Regions from separate parts of the Homo sapiens genome. Here region 1 is linked to region 2. Evidence: promoter capture Hi-C in human tissues and cell types (Jung and others, 2019). All regions are on one chromosome and are shown on one strand. The core of a region is centred on a gene start or on the middle of the fragment in contact, and the rest is flanking DNA. Distances in the headings are between cores, read along the strand shown.

Region 1 (6,204 bases), core at 3,489-5,988, 300 kb before region 2:
ACAGAGCCAATAATTTGAACAACTTCTAGAAAGTTGATCTAGCAATATATCTAGGATCTCTGTTAGTGTTTCCATACCGATACACATAGCCTTACAAAGCACTATGTGACAAATTATCTGGTTTAGCATGTGCAGAATCCTTTCCCACTTATAATCAGCTTTCTTAAAAGGGTATAATTTACATTCCATGAAATCCACAGGTTTACAGTTCAGTCAATTATGACAAAGGCATACACCCATGTAACCCAAATTTCTCTCAAGACACAGAACGTGTTCATCACCATAGAAGCATTCATCATGCCTTTTCCCAATTCATAAGCACTTGAAAAGCAAGCACTGTTGTGATTTCTAGAACCACAGATTAGCTTTGCCTTTTCTAGAGTTTCCTGTGACTAGAATTCTATATAATACACCCTTTTTTGAATCTCACTTAGCAAAATGTTTGAGATTCACTCACGTTATTAGTGTGTTAGTAGTTCATTCCTTTTAGTAGTTTGAATTAGTAGTTCATTCCTTTTCAATAGTTGAGTAGGAGTCCATTGTATAAATAAAGCACAGTTTGAGTTTGTTTATCCATTCTCCTGTTGATGGACATCTGAGCTGTTTACAGTCTCTTGCCAATAATAGAGCTGGGATAAACATTCCTTTTTTTTTTTTCGAGACGGAGTCTCGCTCTGTCACCGAGGCTGGAGTGCAGTGGTGCAATTTCAGCTCATTGCAAGCTCCGCCTCCCGGGTTCATGTCATTTTCCTGCCTCAGCCTCCCAAGTAGCTGGGACTACAGGCGCCCACCACCACGCCGGGCTAATTTTTTGTGTTTTTAGTAGAGATTGGGTTTCACCGTGTTAGCCAGGTTGGTCTCTATCTCCTGACCTTGTGATCCACCTGCCTTGGCCTCTCAAAGTGCTGGGATTACAGGCGTGAGCCATCGCACCCGGCTGGGATGAACATTCTCTTACAAAGTTTTATGTAGACATAAGTTTTTATTTCTCTTGGATAAATACCAAAGGGAGAAATAACTGGCTCACAGAATAGATGTTACTTTCTCCCAACACTATTAGGAAAAAATTTCAAACATAAAGAAAAGTTTAAAGAATTGTATAATAAACACCCACATACTCATCACTTAGATTCTACAATGAACATTTTCCCATGTTTGTTTTGTCATATCTATCCTTCTACCCTCCCACCAAACCACCTTATTATTTATTTTATTTGTATTTCTTGCTTTGTCACCCAGGCTGGAGTGCCATGGAGTGATCACAGCTCACTGTAACCTCAAACTCCTGGCCTCAAGCAATCTTCTCATTTCAGCCTTCCAAAGCACTGCGATTACAGGCATGAGCCACTGCACCTATTTATTTATTTTGAGATTGAGTTTCGCCCTTGCTTTTTTTTTTTTTTTTTTTTTTTTTTTTGGGATGGAATCTCGCTCTGTCACCCAGGCTGGAGTGCAATGGTGCGATCTTGGCTTACTGCAGGCTCTGCCTCCTGGGTTCACGCCATTCTCCCGCCTCCGCCTCCTGAATAGCTGGGACTACAGGACCCCGCCACCACGCCCGGCTAATTTTTTTTTGTATTTTTAGTAGAGATGGGGTTTCACCGTGTTAGCCAGGTTGGTCTTGATCTCCTGACCTCGTGATCCGCCCGCCTCAACCTCCCAATGTGCTGGGATTACAGGCGTGAGCCACCGTGCCTTGCTCTTGTTGCCCAGGCTGGAGTGCAATGACGTGATCTCAGCTCACTGCAACTTCCGCCTCCCTAGTTCAAGCAATTCTCCTGTCTCAGCCTCCCGGGTAGCTGGGATTACAGGCGTGTGCCACCATGCCCGGCTAATTTTGTACTTTTAGTAGAGATGGGGTTTCACCATGTTGGTCTAGCTGGTCTCGAACTCCCGACCTCAGATGATCTGCCTGCCTTGGCCTCCCAAAGTGCTGGGATTATAGGCGTGAGCCACCGCGCCAGGCCTTTTTTCTTCAAGCGATTCTCCCATCTCAGCCTCCCGAGTAGCTGGGACAACAGGCATGCACCACCACGCCCGGCTAATTTTTGTATTTTTTGGTAGAAACGGGATTCATCTTGTTGGCCAGGCTGGTCTCGAACTCCTGACCTCAAGTGATCCTCCCACCTTGGCCTCCCAAAGTGTTGGGATTACAGGCATGAGCCACTGCACCTCGCCTATTTTTCTGATGCTTCTTGATAGAAATGGCAGACACCAGTACATTTCACCCCCAGACACTTGAATATCAATATCATTACCTAAAATTGAATCTTTATGTTTTCAAGGTAAAATTGACATAGAATAAAATGCATAAATCATAACTATATGGTTTGATGTGCTTTGAAAAATGCATGTACCTGTATAATAAAAACACCCATCAAGATAGAGCACTATCATCACCGCAAAAAGTCCCCTCATGTCCCTTCTCAGTCAGTGTCTCAGAAACAACAACTCTTTTGTCCCACCTCCCCACATAAGTTAGTTTTGTCTGTTATAGAACGTTAAATAACCAGCATTTCCTTTTCTTTTTTTTTGAGACAGAGTTTTGCTCTTGTTGCGCAGGCTGGAGTGCGGTGGTGCAACCTCGGCTCACTGCAACCTCCACCTCCTGGGTTCAAGTAATTCTCCTGCCTCAGCCTCCCGAGCAGTTGGGATTATAGGCATGTGCCACCATGCCCAGCTAATTTTTTGTATTTTTAGCAGAAATGGGGTTTCACCATTTTGGCCAGGCTGGTCTGGAACTCCTGGCCTCAGGTGATCCACCTGCCTCGGCAGCCCAAATAACCAGAATTATACCATAAGTACTCTTGTGTGCAAGACTTGCTTTACTCAGCACAATGTTTTTGAAATGTATCTATGTTGTTGCGTGATGCTAATTTTATTTTTTTTGAGACAGGGTCTTGTTCTGTTGCCCACGCTGGAGTGCAGTGGTGCAATCTCTGGCTCACTGCAGCCCTGACCTCCTGGGCTCAAGAAATCCTACCACCTCAGCTTCCCAAGTAGCTGGGTTACAGGTGCACACCATCTCACCCGGCTAGTTTTCATGTTTTTGTAGAGACAGGGTCTCCTGATGTTGCCCAGGCTGGTCTTGAAGTCCTGGGCTCAAGTGATCCTCCAAGTGCTGGGATTACAGGAGTAAGCCACCGCCTCTGGCCTGCCAAACTTTTTTGTTTGTTTGTTTTTTGAGATGGAGTCTTACTCTGTCACCCAGGCTGGAGTGCAATGGTGTGGTCTCAGCCCACTGCCACCTCCACCTCCCGGGTTCAAGCAATTCTCCCGCCTCAGCCTCCTGAGTAGCTGGGATTACAGGTGCCTGCCACCACGGCTGGCTAATTTTTGTATTTTTAGTAGAGACGGGGTTTCACTGTGTTGGCCAGGCTGGTCTCGAACTCCTGACCTCGTGTTCCACCCGCGTCGGCCTCCCAAAGTGCTGGGATTACAGGCACGAGCCACTGCGCCTGGCCTGCTAAACTTTTAAGAAATTTGCAGAAACTTTTTCTAAGCAGTTGTACGTTTTATACACCCATAGTCATGAACGAGAGTTCTGGTGATCCTTGCCAGCACTAGGTGCTGTTTGCATATTTCCATTTAGCCTTTCTTATGGGTGTGTGGTGGTATCTCAGTGTGGTTTTAATTTGTGTTTCCTGTTGGCTAATGACATTAAACACCTTTTTATAGCCTGTTGGCCATTTTTTGGTTGGGCTTTTTTTTTTTTTTTTTTTTTGGAGACGCAGTCTCACTCTGTCGCCCAGGCTGGAGTGCAGTGGCGCGATCTCGGCTCACTGCAAGCTTCGCCTCCCAGGTTCACGCCATTCTCCTGCCTCAGCCTCCCGAGTAGCTGGGACTACAGGCGTGTGCCACCATGCCCGGCTAATTTTTTGTATTTTTTTAGAAGAGACAGGGTTTCACCATGTTAGCCAGGATGGTCTCGATCTCCTGACCTCGTGATCCACCCCACCTTGGTCTCCCAAAGTGCTGGGATTACAGGTGTGAGCCACCGTGCCCGGCTGGTTGGGCTTTTTTTTTTTTTTTTTTATTGAGCCATAGGAGTTGTTTAGATATTTCAGGCACGGGTTATTTTGTGAGATATATGTGTTGTGAATATTTTCTTCTGGTCTGTGCCTGGTCTATATATCTTCTTTTCTTTTCCTTTCTTTCCTTTTTTTTTTTTTTGATGGAGTCTCTCTCTGTTGCCCATGCTGGAGTGCAGTGGCACAATGTTGGCTCACTGCAACCCCTGCCTCCTGGGTTCAAACAATTCTCCTGCCTCAGCCTCTTGAGTAGCTGGGATTACAGGCGTGTGCCACCACACCCGGCTAATGTTTATATTTTTAGTAGAGATGGGGTTTGGCCAGACAGGTCTCAAACTCCTGACCTCGGGTGATCTGCCTGCCTTGGCCTCCCAAAGTGCTGGAATCACAGGTGTGAGTCACCACGCCTGGCCGGTCCGTATATTTTCTTAATGCTGGTTTTGGATGAGCAAAAGTACTACTATTATTTATTTATTTATTTTAAATATAGAGACTGGTTCTCACTACGTTGCCCAGGCTGGTTTAGAACTCCTGGGTTCAAGCAATCCTCCCACCTTGGCCTCCTAAAGTGTTGGGATTAGAGGCATGAGCCACCGTGCCTGGCTGAAAGTATTATTTTTGACTAAGTCCAGTTTGTCAATTTTTTCCTTTATGATTAGTGATTTTTGAGTCCCATGTTAAAAAAAAAAAAAGATCTACTTCAAGGTTTTGAAAATATGTTTTTAGAAGTTCTTTAGCTTTAGTCTGTACTTTTAGATCTCTGACCTATTTCAAGTTAATTTTTGTGTATGATGTGAAGTAAAAGGCAGGGTTCGTTTTGTTTCCATGAGGCTATTTAGTCATTCTACCATTTGTTGAAAATACTGGCCAGGTGTGGTGGCTCACACCTGTAATCCCAGCACTTTGGGAGGCCAAGGTGGGTGAATCACAAGGTCAGGAGTTCGAGACCAGCCTGGCCAACATGGCGAAACCCCGTCTCTACTAAACATACAAAAATCAGCTGGGCATGGTGATGCATGCCTGTAGTCCCAGCTACTCGGGAGGGTGAGGCAGGAGAATTGCTTGAACTGGGACCCGGGAGGCAGAGTTTGCGGTAAGCCAAGATTGAGCCACTGCACTCCAGCCTGGGCTACAGAGCAAGACTCCTCAAAAAAAAAAAAAAAAAAAAAAAAGAAAAAAAAAGAAAAAGAAAATACTGTCTTTTCTCCACTGAATTATCTTAGCATCTTTGTCAGTAATCAATTGAAAGCAGGTGAGGGAGGCTGAGGCAGGAGGATCGCTTGAGTCCAAGAGTTTGAGACCAGCCTGTTAAACACAGTGAGACCCCCAACTCTAAGAAAAAAAAATTCTATTGACCACATATTTATGGACTTCCTAGTTTATTCCATTCATCTCTTTCTATCGGAATCCCAGTACACCTTGCCTTTATTACTGTAGTGTGTGTGTGTGGTTTTTTGTTTTTTTGAGACAGAGTCTTGCCCTGTCACCCAGGCTGGAGTGGAGCAGTGCCATCATGACTCACTGCAGCCTAGACCTCCTGGGCTCAAGCGGTCCTCCCACCTCAGCCTCCTGAATAGCTAGGACCACAGGCACATGCCATCATGCCTGGCTAGTTTTTTAAGTTTTTGTAGAGATGGGTTCTCACTATATTGCCCAGGCTGGTCTTGAACTTCTAAGCTCAAGTGAACTTCTGGGCTCTTGCATTGGCCTCCCAAAGTGGTGGGATTACAGGCATGAGCCACAGTGCCCAGCCTATTACTGTAGTTTTATTATAAATTTTGATATTAATATAAATCCTTCCATTTGGCTTTTCTTTTTCTTTTTTTTTTTTTTTTTGAGACGAAGTTTCACTCTGTCCAGGCTGCTGGAGTGCAGTGGCGCGATCTTGGCTCACTGCAAGCTCCACCTCCTGGGTTCACGCCATTCTCCAGCCTCAGCCTCCCAAGTAGCTGGGACTACAGGCGCCCACCACCACGCCTGGCTAATTTTTTTGTATTTTTAGTAGAGACGGGGTTTCACTGTGTTAACCAGGATGATCTCCATCTTCTGACCTCGTGATCCACCCACCTCGGCCTCCCAAAGTGCTGGGATTACAGGCATAAACCATAAACCACTGTGCCCGGCCTCTTTTTTTTTTTTTTTTTTTTTTTTTTTTGAGTGGGAGTCTCACTCT
Region 2 (6,185 bases), core at 2,012-4,511:
GGGTGATTGAGGGGAACACTGACTTGCAGGGAAGGAGAAAGAGAAAGATAGAAAGATGGGATCCAAGACAAGCATAGACAGACAGGTGGGCAAAGTCCTGTGCAGGGCTCCAGGGCCAACCAGAATAACCTGAGAGTCTAATGCTGGCCTGTCCTTCCGCAGATACTGCCTAACTCAGCACCACACTCCAGGAGGCCATGAAGGATTAATTTCCTATTCACAGCTCCATGGGGTAAAGCTTGGCTGTGCTGAGGAAGGGATGGCGAAGGAGGTTCCCAAAGACTCTGTCCCTTTCCTCCTTCCCAAAGGAAAAGATTTGTGAGCTTTAGACTAGAGAATGTAAAAGCAAGGAATGTGCTTAGGGAACATCTCATCCATCCGCTTCATCCTACAGATTAAAGAGAACAACTACCATTCATTGAGCACTTACTGCCATGTACCTCATCTGCATTAACACTTATACTTCTCCCCTAAATAGCCAAAGAGGTAGGAGCTGTTCTTGGCTCCATAAGACTCAGAGAGATGAAGTCAGCTGTTCAAAGCCACACAACAAAGAAAGGATAAGGTTAGGATTCCAATCCAGGCCTTAATCATTGCACCATCCATTCAGAAAGGGAAACTGAGGCCCAGCAAAGGAAAGGGATCTTCCTGGGCTCGCCACTAACTCACTCTGAAAGCCTGTTCCCAAGACACTGCCCACTGGGACAAGTCCCTCCCACATGATTTCAGACACCATTCTCTCACTCCATGCTCTAGGGTAATCAACAAGTCCAAAATTCATTGACCTCTATGTCCACAAATACTAGAGTTCTCCCAACCTGTCTCTCCCCATCCCCTCCCTGGCCAGGTCATGGCAACCTGCTGATCACTCAGTGCACTTCCTAGTGCCAACCCCAGTGAGAAACAAACTCCCCAGATTTCTGTCTCCCACCTTTTTAAGAAACACGAAGGAAAAGGAGGAGCCAGGCCCAGGTGCAGACTGGTGAACAGGATTAGAGCGATTGATATCTGCCAAGCTGGTGCTAATCTTCCTTCCCACCTCTTCCCCTCCAAAATCAACAAACAACTTTCCTCTCTCTGCCTTGTTCTCTGACCTTTGTTCCCTCCACACAGGTCTCAGAGCTCAGCATCCTAGAACAGTTTGAGCAAGATGTCAGTCCTGGGGGTGCCAACCTCACCCACCTCCACTTGTCCAAAGTTGGTGACCCAGAGGACAGGTGCAACCCTAAATGGTCCAACCACCACAGCCTGTCCTGTGGCCATCTGGGGCCCCTCTCAGGGTCTGGCTGAGGCTCATCTCAGACCCACATAGGACCAATATCAGCACCTGCCTCATGCTCATGTCACAGCCCACTGGGACCAACCTCAGACCCTATATGGTGCCACCCTTACGCCCTCCTGAAGCAGGACACTCTTATGCCCTCAATGACACCTGAGACAACACACAGAGCCCTCTTGGCACCAAACATGACTTCAATATTCTCCTGGTGTCAAGTTCAGTGCCAACTTGTTTCCCATCCTCGCATACACCTGGGGGCAGTCCCAAAGCCAACACGATGCCTTTCCCTCCCTGGCCATACCTGATGCTGATATCAGAACCCACCAATGTCATCAGTGTGTCCACTGCTGATGCCAGTCCCAGCACTCACCTCCTGCTAAGGCTGGCCTGCACTTGACTCCCAGGGTGATCTAGGCCAGTCAATGAAGGGGGGTGAGGAGAAAGTTCACATCCCAGCTCCCTCACTTACTCCCTGTGTGACCTCACTCAAGAGGATTTATGGAGTCTAGATCTGCTCATCTTCAAAATGAGGATGATCATGATGAACCAACCTCATTGTTACAAAGATTCAACCAGATCATACACACCTAGACTTAATCTTCCCGTATACGACCATGCTCACCAAAGGGTAACTGTCCTGTTTACTAAGGAAGAATTTCCCTGAGGGAAGGACAGGAGGGCTACTCATCCCTTCTCCACTCACACCCACCCCAGGATCTGCCTCTGTGCCTAATACTGGAGTTTACCCCAATCTCTTCTGCCACTGTTCCCTCTGCCTGCTAATAGTAGTAGCCCCTGACAAAGCAGGAATCATTCTTAAAGGAGACTTAACTCACCCTCGAATGTGATCTTCTCTTCCCAAACACTCCCTTTCCACTGGCAGGAAAACCAAATCCAGAAAGGGGAACTAAGTACACAGAGCAGGAGAGATGGGAGTTCAGGGCCACTCACACATGTCCCCTGCCCACTGTCTGTTTTCTGTCCTCTGTAGATCTTTATATAAAATGAGAAACATAAACAACAATCATAATATTAATAGGGATGATACAATCAATCTAGTGGGTTTCCCTGAGGATCTGGGTTGGAAACCAGCGGACAACCCTTGGGACACTTGAGATTTTTCCACCATTTGGGGGTTGTTATTACTATTTCTCCAGACCTAGCCAATCCCTCTGCCAACCGCTAACTCCAGGTACTCTTCTCCAGGTGTGGGGAAAGTTCCCCTGAAATATGGCTCTGGTCTTCCTCCCCTTCCCAATCAGAGATGGGCAGTGGAGGTTCTATGGCACCCATCCTGGCCTCACTCTGAGGTTCCAATGAGGATTCTGGGCATCAAGAGACAGCTCTGGGCAAAAGCAAAATCAAGTCAGCCCCTGGACCCAGTGCTGGGCTGCTGGGCTTTCTGGGAGAACCCGCTGGGCTTGCTACACACTCCTCCTCCCAGAAACTCCACACCCACAGCCCTGGGTCTTCCTAGCCCCGAGACTTTCAAGTCCATATGCCTGGAATCCCCCTTCCTGAGACCCTTAACCCTGCATCCTCCACAACAGAAGACCCCTAAATGCACAGCCACACTTTGTCTTACCCTAATAAAACCCAGACCTTTGGATTCCTCTCCCCTGGAACCCCCAGATCCACAACTTTGGGGTGCATTCTCACTCTCAGACCCCAAATCCAAAGCCCAAGTGCTCCCCTATGCAAATATTCCAAACTCCTCAGTTCTACAGCTTATCTGTTGCCCCCTCCTAAATCCACAGCCCTGCGGCACCCCTCCTGAAGTACCACAGATTTAGTCTGGAGGCCCCCTCTCTGTTCAGCTGCCCTGGGGTCCCCTTATCCTCCCTTGCTGGCTGTGTCCCAAGCTAGGCAGGATTCATGGTGGGGCATGTAGTTGGGAGGTGAAATGAGGTAATTATGTAATCAGCCAAAGTCCATCCCTCTTTTTCAGGCAGTATAAAGGCAAACCACCCCAGCCGTCACCATCTATCATCCCACTACCACCATGCTGGCCTCAGGGATGCTTCTGGTGGCCTTGCTGGTCTGCCTGACTGTAATGGTCTTGATGTCTGTTTGGCAGCAGAGGAAGAGCAAGGGGAAGCTGCCTCCGGGACCCACCCCATTGCCCTTCATTGGAAACTACCTGCAGCTGAACACAGAGCAGATGTACAACTCCCTCATGAAGGTGTCCCAAGGCAGGGAGATGGGTGGCACGGGGTGGGGGCTGCCTAGTTGGCTGGGGCTTTGTGGCAGGGGGTTGACCAGTGTGGACCAGAGTCTTAGGAAATGGAGTTTTGGAGTTTCAGCATCAGAAAGACAGGATCTTGGGATGTCCAGCTCCCTGACTGTGAGAACCTGGGTGCGAAGCATCCCAGCACATGACATCTCGGTGCTGGGCCCCATTCAGAGTGGAGGCTTCTCCCTCTAACCACTCCCACCCACCTCCATCAGATCAGTGAGCGCTATGGCCCCGTGTTCACCATTCACTTGGGGCCCCGGCGGGTCGTGGTGCTGTGTGGACATGATGCCGTCAGGGAGGCTCTGGTGGACCAGGCTGAGGAGTTCAGCGGGCGAGGCGAGCAAGCCACCTTCGACTGGGTCTTCAAAGGCTATGGTGAGGGGGTGCCCAAGAGGGGGAAGGTGGCCAGGTGGACACGAAGGTCTCAGTGTTCCCAGCCTTCTCCCTGACTCTCCTGCCAACTGGAGGCTAAGGCAGAGTCCCCAGTCTGGTCTTCCCTCCCCATCTCCCTTCATTGTGGCCTCTCCATGTGTATCCCTCACCTGTCTCCAGCGTCCCTGTCCTGATTCCTCCCTGCCTCTCTCTGCCCCACCTCCTTATTCTCTCTCACTGGAGTCTCCTCTTTCCCCTCTCTCTCCATCTCTAAGGACATCCTGGGTTTCTGTTTTCCAGCCCTGGTTCTCTGTCTTCATTTGTCTTTTTGTCCCTCTTAGCTTCTGGGCTTCTCTGTGTTTCTCATCTCTCCGCATCCCTTTCTCACTTCTTCCTCTGTCTTAGGATTTCAGGGTATTCCTACTTCCACATCTTCAGCCTCCATCTCCTGGTAACAGTCTCTCTTCCTTCCAGACCCTCTCTGTTTCTATCTCAATATTTTTCTCTCTTCTCCAGCTCAGCTTAAGAATCTTTCACCATTTTTATTTCCTCCTCCCAGATCTCCCCATATCTCACTTCCCCTCCCTCCATCCTCTTCCTCCATCACTCTCTTTCTCTCCCCACTTCCTTCCCTTCCTCCATGGAGTGTCCCCTTATCCCTCTGTTTCTATGTGCATCTCTCTGTCTGGCCTTTCTGTTTCTTTTCTGATTGTCTTATTCTTTAAACCTGGTCTCTCTCTCTCTCTCTCTCTCTCTCTCTCTCTCTCTCTCTCTCCTCTCTCTCTTCTCTCTCTCTCTCCTCTCTCTCTTCTCTCTCTCTCTCTCTCTCTCTCCTCTCTCTCTTCTCTCTCTCTCTCTCTCTCTCTCTCTCTCTCTCTCTACCTCGACATCGTGTTTCTCTGACTGAGTTTGCAGCTCTGCTGGGCAATGGCGCTGAATCCATCTCTCTCCCACCCTACTCCCTCTCTCCTCCACCCTTGGGGAGCCCCTTGGAGCTGCTCCGCTCCTGCCCCTGCCGCCCCCTGGCCTGTCTCCATTCCCGCGTTCACCTCCCCAGGCGTGGTATTCAGCAACGGGGAGCGCGCCAAGCAGCTCCGGCGCTTCTCCATCGCCACCCTGCGGGACTTCGGGGTGGGCAAGCGAGGCATCGAGGAGCGCATCCAGGAGGAGGCGGGCTTCCTCATCGACGCCCTCCGGGGCACTGGCGGTGAGCAGGGGACCCCGAGTGCGGGGGCAGGAGAAGGAAAACACCCAGGACGAGGAACCCGCGCGCGTTCTGCCTGGGGATGGGGACTAGGTGGGGAAAGGCGCCCGCACTTCCAGCCCTGGAGTCTGGCGCTGGGAATTTGGCTCAACAAGGCCCTGCCTCCTGGAATTCTGACTCTCCTCAGACCTCTGAGTTGACTCTCTCCCCAACCCCCTTCTCCCGCCATACCCGCAGGCGCCAATATCGATCCCACCTTCTTCCTGAGCCGCACAGTCTCCAATGTCATCAGCTCCATTGTCTTTGGGGACCGCTTTGACTATAAGGACAAAGAGTTCCTGTCACTGTTGCGCATGATGCTAGGAATCTTCCAGTTCACGTCAACCTCCACGGGGCAGGTAACTGGCTGCAGCCCGGCCCGTGACGCCCCTACCACAACCTGCCAACTGCTCCCCTACCTGGAGACAGGTGCCCCAAACTCCCACCGCCCTCCAGACAGTGTCCCCTCAAAATCAGTCCCCGATATTGGACAACTGGACAGTTGCACCAGAACCCAGGATGGATGTCCAATACCCTGTCTCCAAGGACACCTGGATAGCTCAACAGATGCTCCCCAAAACAGAGCCTGCTGGCAGGATGCATACCCTCAGCTCAGCTCTCTCACCTGGGCACGTGTTCCCATCCCCAACTTACCGTAATTTCTAACAGATGCTCCCTACCCAGTTCTTCTGAATATTTTAACACCTGGACAAGTGACTGCGTCAACCGGCCTCCTGCATACCTGAACACCTGGTGCTGCAAAATCCAGCCCATCATAATCATTTCACATCTACACAAATGTCCCAGATTAGCCCACTGGAATATCTGGCCAAGCGCCCTCTACTTCACCCACTTAAATACCTGAAAACATGGACAGCTGCCCTAACCAACACCTTAAACACATAAATATCTAGACAGATTGTTCCCTGACACACAAATAAGTGTTCCCCAACCCTTTCCAATCACACACCTTACAGAGGTGCTCCCAGTGCATCCCACTTGGATAGGTAAACACCTCAACAGGTATCCCCTCCACTTCAACATCTTCACCAGCC

Evidence for each region. The method cuts DNA at HindIII sites, captures the fragments that hold promoters and counts their contacts. A contact is called where the count stands out against the background at its distance.
Region 1: a fragment that was not itself captured here is called in contact with the fragment with the promoter of CYP2A6 in region 2 in 2 of the 25 tissues and cell types used here (H1 embryonic stem cells and mesenchymal stem cells).

Annotation. Positions count from the first base shown.
Region 1 is chr19:41,149,382-41,155,585 of GRCh38, reverse strand. The region is part of intron 2 of LOC124904790; the gene reads left to right. Among named protein-coding and RNA genes, the nearest start is that of CYP2F1, 38 kb to the right of the region's middle. The HindIII fragment of the contact is 5,706 bases long and covers 1,886-6,204 here.
Region 2 is chr19:40,847,523-40,853,707 of GRCh38, reverse strand. CYP2A6 (cytochrome P450 family 2 subfamily A member 6) reads left to right here and starts at 3,261. Exons shown (of 9, transcript NM_000762.6): 1 at 3,261-3,461; 2 at 3,728-3,890; 3 at 4,945-5,094; 4 at 5,329-5,489. The coding sequence starts at 3,282. RefSeq lists enhancers at 835-869, 2,065-2,093, 4,903-5,402 and promoters at 3,146-3,282, 2,263-3,282. The HindIII fragment of the contact is 10,166 bases long and covers 1-6,185 here.